2 separate regions of the Homo sapiens genome follow, and region 2 is linked to region 1. The links are contacts of gene promoters, found by promoter capture Hi-C in blood cells and fetal thymus (Javierre and others, 2016). All regions are on one chromosome and are shown on one strand. The core of a region is centred on a gene start or on the middle of the fragment in contact, and the rest is flanking DNA. Distances in the headings are between cores, read along the strand shown.

Region 1 (4,542 bases), core at 1,378-3,877:
GAACGATGCTATTCGAGGCCCTAGGCACGTGGAGCTCACATTCCTGCCTGCTGGACTTCTGGGAATTGGGCACGATCAGGGTGGAATCCACCCAGGTTTCAGACTTTTATGTCCACGCGAACTCCTACCCTCTGTGATGTAAACGGAGATGCAGCCCTTTCTGCTATCTGGCCTAAGAGACAGAAGGAGAGGTTCCCCGCAAATACGGCTCTCAGGCCCCCTCTGTGAGCGAACAGAGTAACAGCACCCTAAAGACCAGAGCTCTTCCTGACAGTCTGGGAAGGGCCTGAGCTCACAGCTGGGGACATTCAGAGTATGTAGGGGGTGTGCACTGTCACATCTGGGCATCATTAAGCAGGTGGGAGTGACATGGCCACCAAGGAGAAGGAGAGTTGGTCACATCTAGGCTGCCTGCCCCCAAAGCCCTCGCATTTACAAATCAGCCAGCCAGAGGGGCTTCAGCTGGGGATGGAGCAGGTTGCCAGGGGGAAATGTTGTTTGAATTAGGTGATTGAAACGCTGTAGGCAAGGCAGGCCAGCTTCTCAGACATTTTTAATAAATGCTTACGGTTCTTCTTCCAAAGCAGGTGAAAGGAGAATATATAAGTAACGATATATTTGCGGTGGCTATGCCTATTCCACAGCAATCACAAGGGGTGTCCTTGGGGTGGGAGTGCGCCTGGGAAAGAGTTGGCAATCAGTGAGTGACAGTCCTAGACTTCAAGGACCAGAAAGACTAGGCAGCCGTGGGGGACCAGACTAAGTAGGACCACGAGAGAGAGTAGAGAGAAGCACTGTGGCAAAAGATGGAGGGTCTCACTAGCTCTTTATTTCCCAGAAGAAATATCAGACACGCAGGGTAGACTTCTGCATTAAGCACCGCAGGCCCAGTGCCAGGGACCATAGTCTTTTGGGGCCCATGAAAATGTTTTGATTTCTTTTAAAATCAGAAAAAAATAAGTAAAGCTTTAGGCTGAAGAACATGTTTTAATATGCAATATTAATATACTTTTCCTTATGCCAACGCAGTTGCAAAATCTTATTTTTAATAATTTTGTTAGCAGGGAAAGGAGTCCACCGAGGCGAAGGCACCTGAAATTTTCCCAGTGCCCGGGAAATTTTAACAGAAGCCTGTTAACCCCAGCTGAGCTTCGTGGAGTAGGCGCTAGCTCTGGGCCACAGCAGAGGACGCCTCCGGGCTCTCTTGTTTGAATTCCTCCACCAATGTCCGGTTCTTCTACTCTTTACAAGCTGGGCTCCGAAGGAAAAAAGAAGAAACAAAGAACGCACGCTCCTTGGCACCAACTTCACTTTCTCAGGCTTCTGCAGGTCCCAGGCCTCCCGATGTCTCCCCCTCCGCCCTGAGCATTTCCAGACCTTGGAGAGCCTGACTTGGGAAGGGGAAACTGGAATCAATCGGTTGACCGACCCCCTTTTCCCAACCGCCGCCTCCCCACCAATCACTCCATGTCCGGAAGGGGGCTGGGGGCTCCCGACTATAGGAGACTCTGGGAGTCCTATGAGGCCTTTGAGACAGGGGCGCGAGCGAGGCTGGAAGGAAAGGCTGGGCAGAGAGCGGAGGGGCTCGCGCGCATCTCTCCCGGCGCGGCAGAAGGTTGGCACTGCTGCCCCCCTGCGGGTCCCAGAGCCGCTGGGCGCCCGCGGCCGCGCAGTCGGATTGTATTTCTGCGGGGCTCGCTCCCGGGCCTGGCTCGGGGCCGCCGCCGCCGCCGCCGCCCCTCCCGGCGCGCAGGCTGCTCTCCAGTCGCGGCCACGGGGTAGCGCTCGGCCCCCCTCTCCGCGTCTCCGCCTCCGCCGCGCTCGTCCCCGGCTCACGCTGCCCCCGCAGCTCCGGCTCGGCGCAGGCAGGAGCGGCTCTCTGGACGCCGAGCCCGGGAAGCGGAGGGCGGCGGGCTCGGCGAGCGGCAGCGGCGGCCGAGGCGCTGGGGCGGCCGTTGCTCCTCCGGCCCGGGAGGTCGGCGATCGCCGGGCGTCCGAAGGGGCGCCGCGTCCCCGGAGCCGGGGCTGCCCGCCGGGCTCTCCGTGCGTCTTCCCGAGAGCTCCGGCCGGGGCGCGGCGGAGGGCAGAGCCGCCGGTCTCCATCCTCGGGCCGGCAGGAGGCTCTGCGCCCGGGCGCCGGCGACAGCCCGCGTCGCGAAGCCCAGCACCCTCCCCCGCCGCCCCGCGGCTGGCGCGGACATGGGCGCTCAGGGCTGCGCGCCCGGCTCCGGGACCCGCAAAGTTTGCTAGCCGGCTGGGCGCGGAGCCGAGGGCGCGCCCGGCCCCAGCGCCCCCGGAGGAGACCCGGCGTCTCCCGATTCGGCGCGAGGGCGGTGGAGCCCAGAGGGGGTGGTTCGGCCCCGCCAGATGCTGCCTGCAAAGTTAGAGAGAAGAAAACTTCAGCTCCAGGGAGATTCGGACCGCTATGCTCACCGCGTCCCCCGAAACCGGCGCCCCTAAAAGAACCCCCGCACCCGCGTCTGCCACTGCGCTCGGCTCTGGCCGGGTCCCGGGGGCCCGGCGCCTGGAACGGCGGTGACTGCGTCGGCCGGGAGAACCCAACCAGGGGGCGGGGAGGGGGCGGGCAACGTGGCCACGGGAGGAAGTTTCCTGAAGTTGTCCATTTATTCCGGAGCTCGGCCGGCGACCCGGCCGGATCGCAGAGGCCGCCCTGTTTGGGAGAAGTCGGAGTTGGGGTGCTAAGGGAGAGAGGCGCCCTAGTCCGAGAGGGCGGCCTGGCCTCTTTCTCCCTGCTCGCCCCTCGCCTTCCGGGCGCGCTGCCGGGCTCGGACTAGTACAGAAGAGGAGGAAGGGTTGGGGTAGCCAAGCGCTGCCCCTCCCGGGCATATTACACCCCGGGGCACGGAGCCGCGTAGACTGACTGTTTCCTGGGACTAAGCCACGGGGTATCGGACCCCACCAGGATTATAAAACAGGGCGGAGGGAAGGGAGACCCCGAGGACCCCTCTCCAGGCTGGTCACCATGTGGGGGCTTTTGATCTGGACACTGCTAGCTCTGCATCAGATCCGCGCGGCCAGAGCCCAAGGTAAGGAGGGACCCCCACGTGGGGACAGGGAGGGGGCTGGGAGAGTGGGCGGGGGAGGGGCGGCGGGAGCTGGCCGGCCTCACGGTGACCTCCTGGACACCCGGCTTAGCCGTGGCAGAGCCCTCTCCAGGGAGTTTCAAGACACCCCATCTCCCAAGTTTTGGGGCTCTTTTGGGGGTGGGGCAGTCTCTCCGAGACTTGTGGCTTCCGAATGGGGGAAGGTGGGGACGACCTGGGGAGGCAGAGAAGAGCCCAAGGTGAAGTGGGAGGGGCGCTCCCCTCCCCCCGTCTGCTGTGGCTGCCCTGCGCCGGCTTGGGAGGGGAGCGACATTCCGTGCCGGGCTCCACGCTCGGCTACGCTGAGCTTCCCAGACCGAGCTCCTGGTTCCCTGCTCGGTGTCTGCGGGGAAGGGCAGGGCCCCTGCCGGGCAGGCGATGGCCTCCCCGGGGCGAGGGAGTGGGGTGGGCGAGCGCTGGATGCCGGGTTGCTCGCCCGGGGAGAGCAATTGCCCGGCTTGGCCACGTACGGGAGCCCGCCCCTGGCTGCTCGGCCAGCCGCTGGGGCTGGGGGTGCTTCGCTGCGCGGGCCTGGAGCCAAGGTCGCGGGTGCAGCCGCGGACCCACCGGGGGGTGGTGCACAGGGAGGGTCTGAGGCCTCCCCTCCTACCCATCCACCCACACCCAGCATCCCCGCCCCTGCCTCCAGCCTCCGCTGTTCGCTCGATAGTCTGTGCAGCCGCTCGCTGCTGTGACCTGTGGCTGCCGGGAGCAGCCTCGCGGTGGAGAAGGGCTGGTGGCTTTGGGTTTGGGAGTGCTACGAAGGATCCGAGGTGTGATCTGCGCTGCCCGCTTCCTGAGGGTGGATGCCCAGACGTCCCCCTGGTCCCCGGGCAGGTCCCCGAGGTGAAGGGCGGCTGCACCGGCGGTTCCTCGACTTTGGGGTTCGCCGATCCAGACAGTGGTGTCAGCGGTGTCCGAGCGGCGCCTGCTGGGGGCGGAGGGAGACGAAGCCTGGACCGAGCTCCAGGACTCGCAGGGCTAGGCCTTCACTCTCGCAGGCTCAGGAGGGGGCCAGACCCACCCTAGGGGTCCGGACTGTGGGGGCTGCAACCCACTCCCCACGCCGCCTCGTGCGCCAGGCAATCCAGAGAGCCAAGATCAAAGAGATGAAAATAATCAGCTCTCACTCACAGGGCTGAGGGGAGGATTTTACGAGGTAATTTACATAAAAGCACTTCGAAATTTTGTAACGAGCCCTATAAATGTAGGGTAATAAAAGTTATTATTTTTATGATCATCATAAAATCTTTGAACAAGCGAGGACCTCAGAGGTCATCTTATTCTAGTAGCCATTTAACAGATAGGGAAACTGAGGCCAAATGGCATTAAATGACTTGCCCAAGGCCACTCTGTGATCTGGGGGCAGAGGCAGGTCTGGAACCAGATGAGTTCTGAGCCTCTCTCCCTCAAACCAGGACTAGCTGCATGGGGTCTC
Region 2 (4,542 bases), core at 1,265-3,764, 540 kb before region 1:
GGATAGCTGGCAAGCAGGGAGGAGGAAGGGTGGCCCAAACATGGCAGGGTCCCCACCCCTGGGAAGGGTCACTCGAATTTTCCCTATCACTGCCGGCCATGGGACGAGGGGAGGGAAGCTGGTGCTGGTGCTGAGCAACTGACCCAAGGCCCTGGAGCTCCTTGCTGGAGCTGGGAGGGAGGCAGGGGAATGGATCAGGTGACCTGTAGTCCTTCCAGACTCATGACTCCATGGCCATGTGGCTGCAACAGGGTAAGTTCTGGGAGAATCGGAGGCTCCAGGCACTCTGTCTGCCATTTCCGAGCTTGGAGTTTGGCCAAGCATGTTGGGTGGGACCTGGGGGTCGTGATCCAAATGTGCGGAACCAGGAAGGCCTTCCAGCCCTTTTTGGGGGTTGCAGGGAAACAGGAGGGCCTGCTGAGGCCCTATACAAGAGGCCTTCCAATATAGGAGGCCCCCTAATGGGCAGACTGAGGCCTCTGAGGCCATGAGAAGCAGTTACATGGAGGAAACTTCCGGAAGGCAGAGCTTTCAGGCAGGGTCTGGAAGAGAAGGGAGGGAAGCCTGCAGGAGGAGGGAGGCAGAGGCTGGGGGCCAGAGGGCATTTCGGGACATCTCCACCATTATTTAACTTTCATTTTGCAACTCCACCATCACTCACTCTGAATGCAGATCATAAAAATTACAATTGATGTTTCAATTAGTTATAATTTACAGAGCGATTACATTTAATTTCTCTTTCATTGTATTTTAATGGCTTCAAATTTCTTGTTGATGAGATTCAGCCCCATGCTCTGAAGCTACAGGCCCAGGGTGGGGAGGGGGCTTGGTTCTTAAGGGGGCAGGTAGGCCTGCGGAGCTCTGGGGCCACTTGCTGCCTCGGTCTCCCCCAGCCAACCCAGCAGCCTCTCACCAGTCTTCCCAGCCTGGGGTGGGGAGTGGGAAGCAGGTAGAAGGAAAAGCTGCAGGGCCTGGGGATGGGGAGGCTTCGGGCCCTGCCCTGCAGCCATCTGTTTAAATGATGCTGCTAATGGAGAAGGAACATTTGCCTCTTCTTAACTAAGGATCCAGGGGAATGAGGTGGAGACAAGGGGAGGGGTGGGTGAGGAGCCCAGGAGAGAATCAATGATCTGTGCTCCTTTCTCAGGCTGGAGGAGCTGGAGACAGCCTGGGCTGGGAGCTCAGCAGCTCAGAGCCTAAAGTGCAGAGGAGAGAAACTGGGGAGAACAGAAGTTGAGCCTTTGCACAACTTCCATTTTCTTCGTGTGCCTAGCTCAGTGTGAGACAGCACAGGGGCACCCCTGGCGCTTAGTAAATATCAGACCAGTTGTTCACGTTTGTTCACGGGAACTCCTCAGGTGCAGTTCTTTGGAAGTGCAGTGTTCTTTGGAAGAAGTTCCTTGCAGACTCCTCTCCCTCCTCCTGCTCTTGGGTGACGATGGGCACTTGCTGCTGGCTGCAGAGGAAGGGCCCACCAAAGGCACTGACAGGGTGATGGTGGGCTTGGTAATTAGAGGTGGCCCAGGGCTGCGGGGACTTTCTGCAGCTTGGCAGCTGCTCACAACACAGTTGGCTTTGAAGAGGCTTCAAAGTGTCTCCCAGGAAGGTCCCCAAATCATCTGAAAAGCAGCCTGGAGTCTGTCAACTCTTGGGAGTGGGAGAAAGGCGAGAGCTTTGCTGGGCTTCGCAGGTGGGAGGCAGGAGTCAGTACGTCAAAGTCTCAGAAGCTGGGGACCTGGGGGGAGATTAGAGGTCCTGAATTAGGCTGTGGAACCACCTGCTGCCTGGAGAAGCTGCCTGGGATGGGCTCTGGATTTCTCTGTGGAGGGGGCTGGGAGGGCTGGAATGGGAGGAGTCAGGAGCTGGGCTCTCCATGTTTTGTGTCCACTCCTGGGCCTGGGGGCTGATGGGAGAGGCCTGATCTCAACACGTCTCTCCCCGCCCCGTGCCTCCGGGCAGCGGCCACCATCCTGCCCCAGCCCAGGTCTCCCGGCAGGGCCAGAGCAGGCAGCCCAGCAGTGAGGCTGCAGTGAGGAGCGGTGAGTGTGTGCACAGATTGCTTGCCAGCAAGGTGGAGGCCTTGCAAACTGTATCAAGGAAAGAAGAATGTTTCAAGGAATGAAATCTCAGCCTGGAAAAGAAGAAACTAGAAAGCTACTGCACTTTCTGACTTCCAAACAATTAAATTAGACAAGGAGCGCGAAGGCTCAGTGAGGGGTTGAACGTCCTCTTGACCCTGTCAAAATCTTAGGCCAAAAAAATGCCCGCTTGATCTCCAGCGCTTTGCCCGTTGCTCAGAAGCATTTAGCTTCCTGACGATTCCAGTGTTCTCAGCAGTGACTATCAAACACTCCAGCTTTTACTAATTAATCAGATTTTTTAACAAAGAAGAAAGAAAGAGGTCATGTATCAATTTTACTGAAGAATTCTTCCTTGTATTCAGAAATTCTTCTAACTATCTGAAGGGGACAGGCTGTTTAGCTTCTCTGGGCCTCAGTTTACTCATAAGTGGTTGATGGTGGTGGTGGTGGGGAGGTCCTAAAATCTCTGGACACTTTAGGGTCTGCCATGTCACACATGTGTGCAGGCTCTAGACAGACAGTTCAGGGAGGAGTGGTCCTGAGCCGAGTCTCTGCAGCAGAGTGGCGGCTGGTGGGCGTGGCTCTGGGAAGTGAGCTGACACCTCCACCAGGTGCTTTCCAGCCCCCTAAAACATCTGCCACCCCAGAAAATGGCACAGTGGACGACTTTTGGTCTTGGCCTCCTGGGTTCTTTTCTAAGAGCTGCCATCACAAATGATCACACATTTGTTGGCCTAAAACAGCAGAAATTGATACTCTCCCAGTTCTTCAGCACAGAAGTCTGAAATCCAGGTGTCGGAAGGGCTGTGCTCCCTCTGAGGCTCTAGGGGAGGGTCCCTTCTTGCCTATCCCAGTTGCTGGCGGGGCTCCTGGTGTCCCTCGGCTTGTGGCCACATCACTCGAGTCTCTGCCTCCATCCTCACGTGGTCTCCTTCCTGTGTCTGTGTGTTTCCTTTTTTGTCTCTTAAAAGGACATGCTCTCTGGATTTAGGACCCACCCTAATCCAGGATAATCTCTTCTTTTTTTTTTTTTTTTGAGACAGAGTCTCTGTTGCTCAGGCTGGAGTGCGGTGGCGCGATCTCGGCTCACTGCCACCTCTGCCTTCCAGGTTCAAGCGATTCTCTTGCTTCAGCCTCCCAAATAGCTGGTATTACAGCCACCACGTGTGCCACCACGCCTGGCTAATTTTTGTATTTTTAGTAGAGATGGGGTTTGGCCATGTTGGCCTGGCTGGTCTTGAACTCCTGGCCTCAGGTATCTGCCCACCTCAGCCTCTCAAAGTGTTGGTATTACAGGCGTCAGCCACCACGGCTGGCCCCCCAAAACACCCTTCAAAGAGATTATCAAGAGGATAATCTCTGCTTGATCCTCACCCTAACTACATCTGCAAAGACCCTATTTCCAAATTAGGTCACATCCTGAGGATCAGATGGAAGTGAATGTTTTGGGGGACACTGTTGAAACACTGCACTTTCTCGGCATGTCTCCTTCCCTCTTCCTGGTAAGATACCCTCCCTCATTTGGAAGATTCTTCTGTCCTACTTCCCATTGCACACAATTCTGATGGGCAGGTAGTAACAGTGTCCTTTCCCCTCCCCTTGACCACAGGGGCAGACATGTGTGCCCTGGGACATTGTACCTGTCTCTCAGGCCTTAAGAATGGACAGGAGGTTGGGCAGTGGGGACTCAGGGATCGGAACTGGTCCAGACAGAGTCATTCCTGAGATTTAGATATTCCTCAAGATATGTCCGGGCACAGTGGCTCACGCCTGTAATCCCAGTACTTTGGGAGGCCAAGGCGGGTGGATCTTCTGAGGTCGGGAGTTCAAGACCAGCCTGGCCAACATAGCAAACCCCCATCTCCACTAAAAAAGCATAAAATTAGCCTGGCGTGGTGGCAGGTGCCTGTAATCCCAGCTACCTGGGTACTTGGGAGGCTGAGGCAGGAGAATCACTTGCACCCAGGAGGTGGAGGATGCAGTGAGCTGAGATTGCACCATTGCACTCTAGCCTGAGCAACAGGATCAAAACGCTGTCTCAAAAAAAAAAAAAAAAGATATGTTCAACAGGAGAGGGAGAGGGAGCCTCTGGGATCCTGTGCTAGGATCGTGCAAGCCTGGAAGAGCCTGTGGCCATCTCCCTTCCTCCTGCTGCATGAAGGCAGCTGGTATGCAGAAGGGCAGGCTAGGACCAGCAACAAACAGAAGCAGAGTCTGGAGATGGGGATATGGGCATGGCAGGGGGCTAAGGAAAACAGAATAAAAGGATGGGAAAACCAGATGTGGTCATCCAGGCCTGCCAGCACCTGACTCCGTTCTCTTTCTTACCCTCAATCCGCACCTGCCAGCACCCAACTCTGCTCTCTCTGCCTGTGCAGCTCCCTTCTCTACTCCAGTGAATCCGAGTTGCTGTTCTGTCCCTTGCCACAGAAACCTGACGGACACAACAGCATACGGAATA

Evidence for each region. Contacts are between HindIII fragments. The CHiCAGO score rates a contact against its expected background, and 5 or more counts as called.
Region 2: a contact is called between a fragment that was not itself captured here and the fragment with the promoter of SDK2 in region 1, in 6 of 17 cell types (M1 macrophages, M2 macrophages, M0 macrophages and 3 more). The highest score is 9.1, in M1 macrophages.

The regions. Positions count from the first base shown.
Region 1 is chr17:73,642,530-73,647,071 of GRCh38, reverse strand. SDK2 (sidekick cell adhesion molecule 2) reads left to right here and starts at 2,627. Exons shown (of 45, transcript NM_001144952.2): 1 at 2,627-3,047. The coding sequence starts at 2,984. LOC124904054 (a long non-coding RNA gene) reads right to left here and starts at 1,598. Exons shown (of 2, transcript XR_007065893.1): 1 at 1,378-1,598; 2 at 968-1,251. The HindIII fragment of the contact is 5,171 bases long and covers 969-4,542 here.
Region 2 is chr17:74,177,890-74,182,431 of GRCh38, reverse strand. No RefSeq gene overlaps it. Among named protein-coding and RNA genes, the nearest start is that of RPL38, 24 kb to the left of the region's middle. RefSeq lists enhancers at 1-186, 1,889-2,465. The HindIII fragment of the contact is 6,389 bases long and covers 1-4,542 here.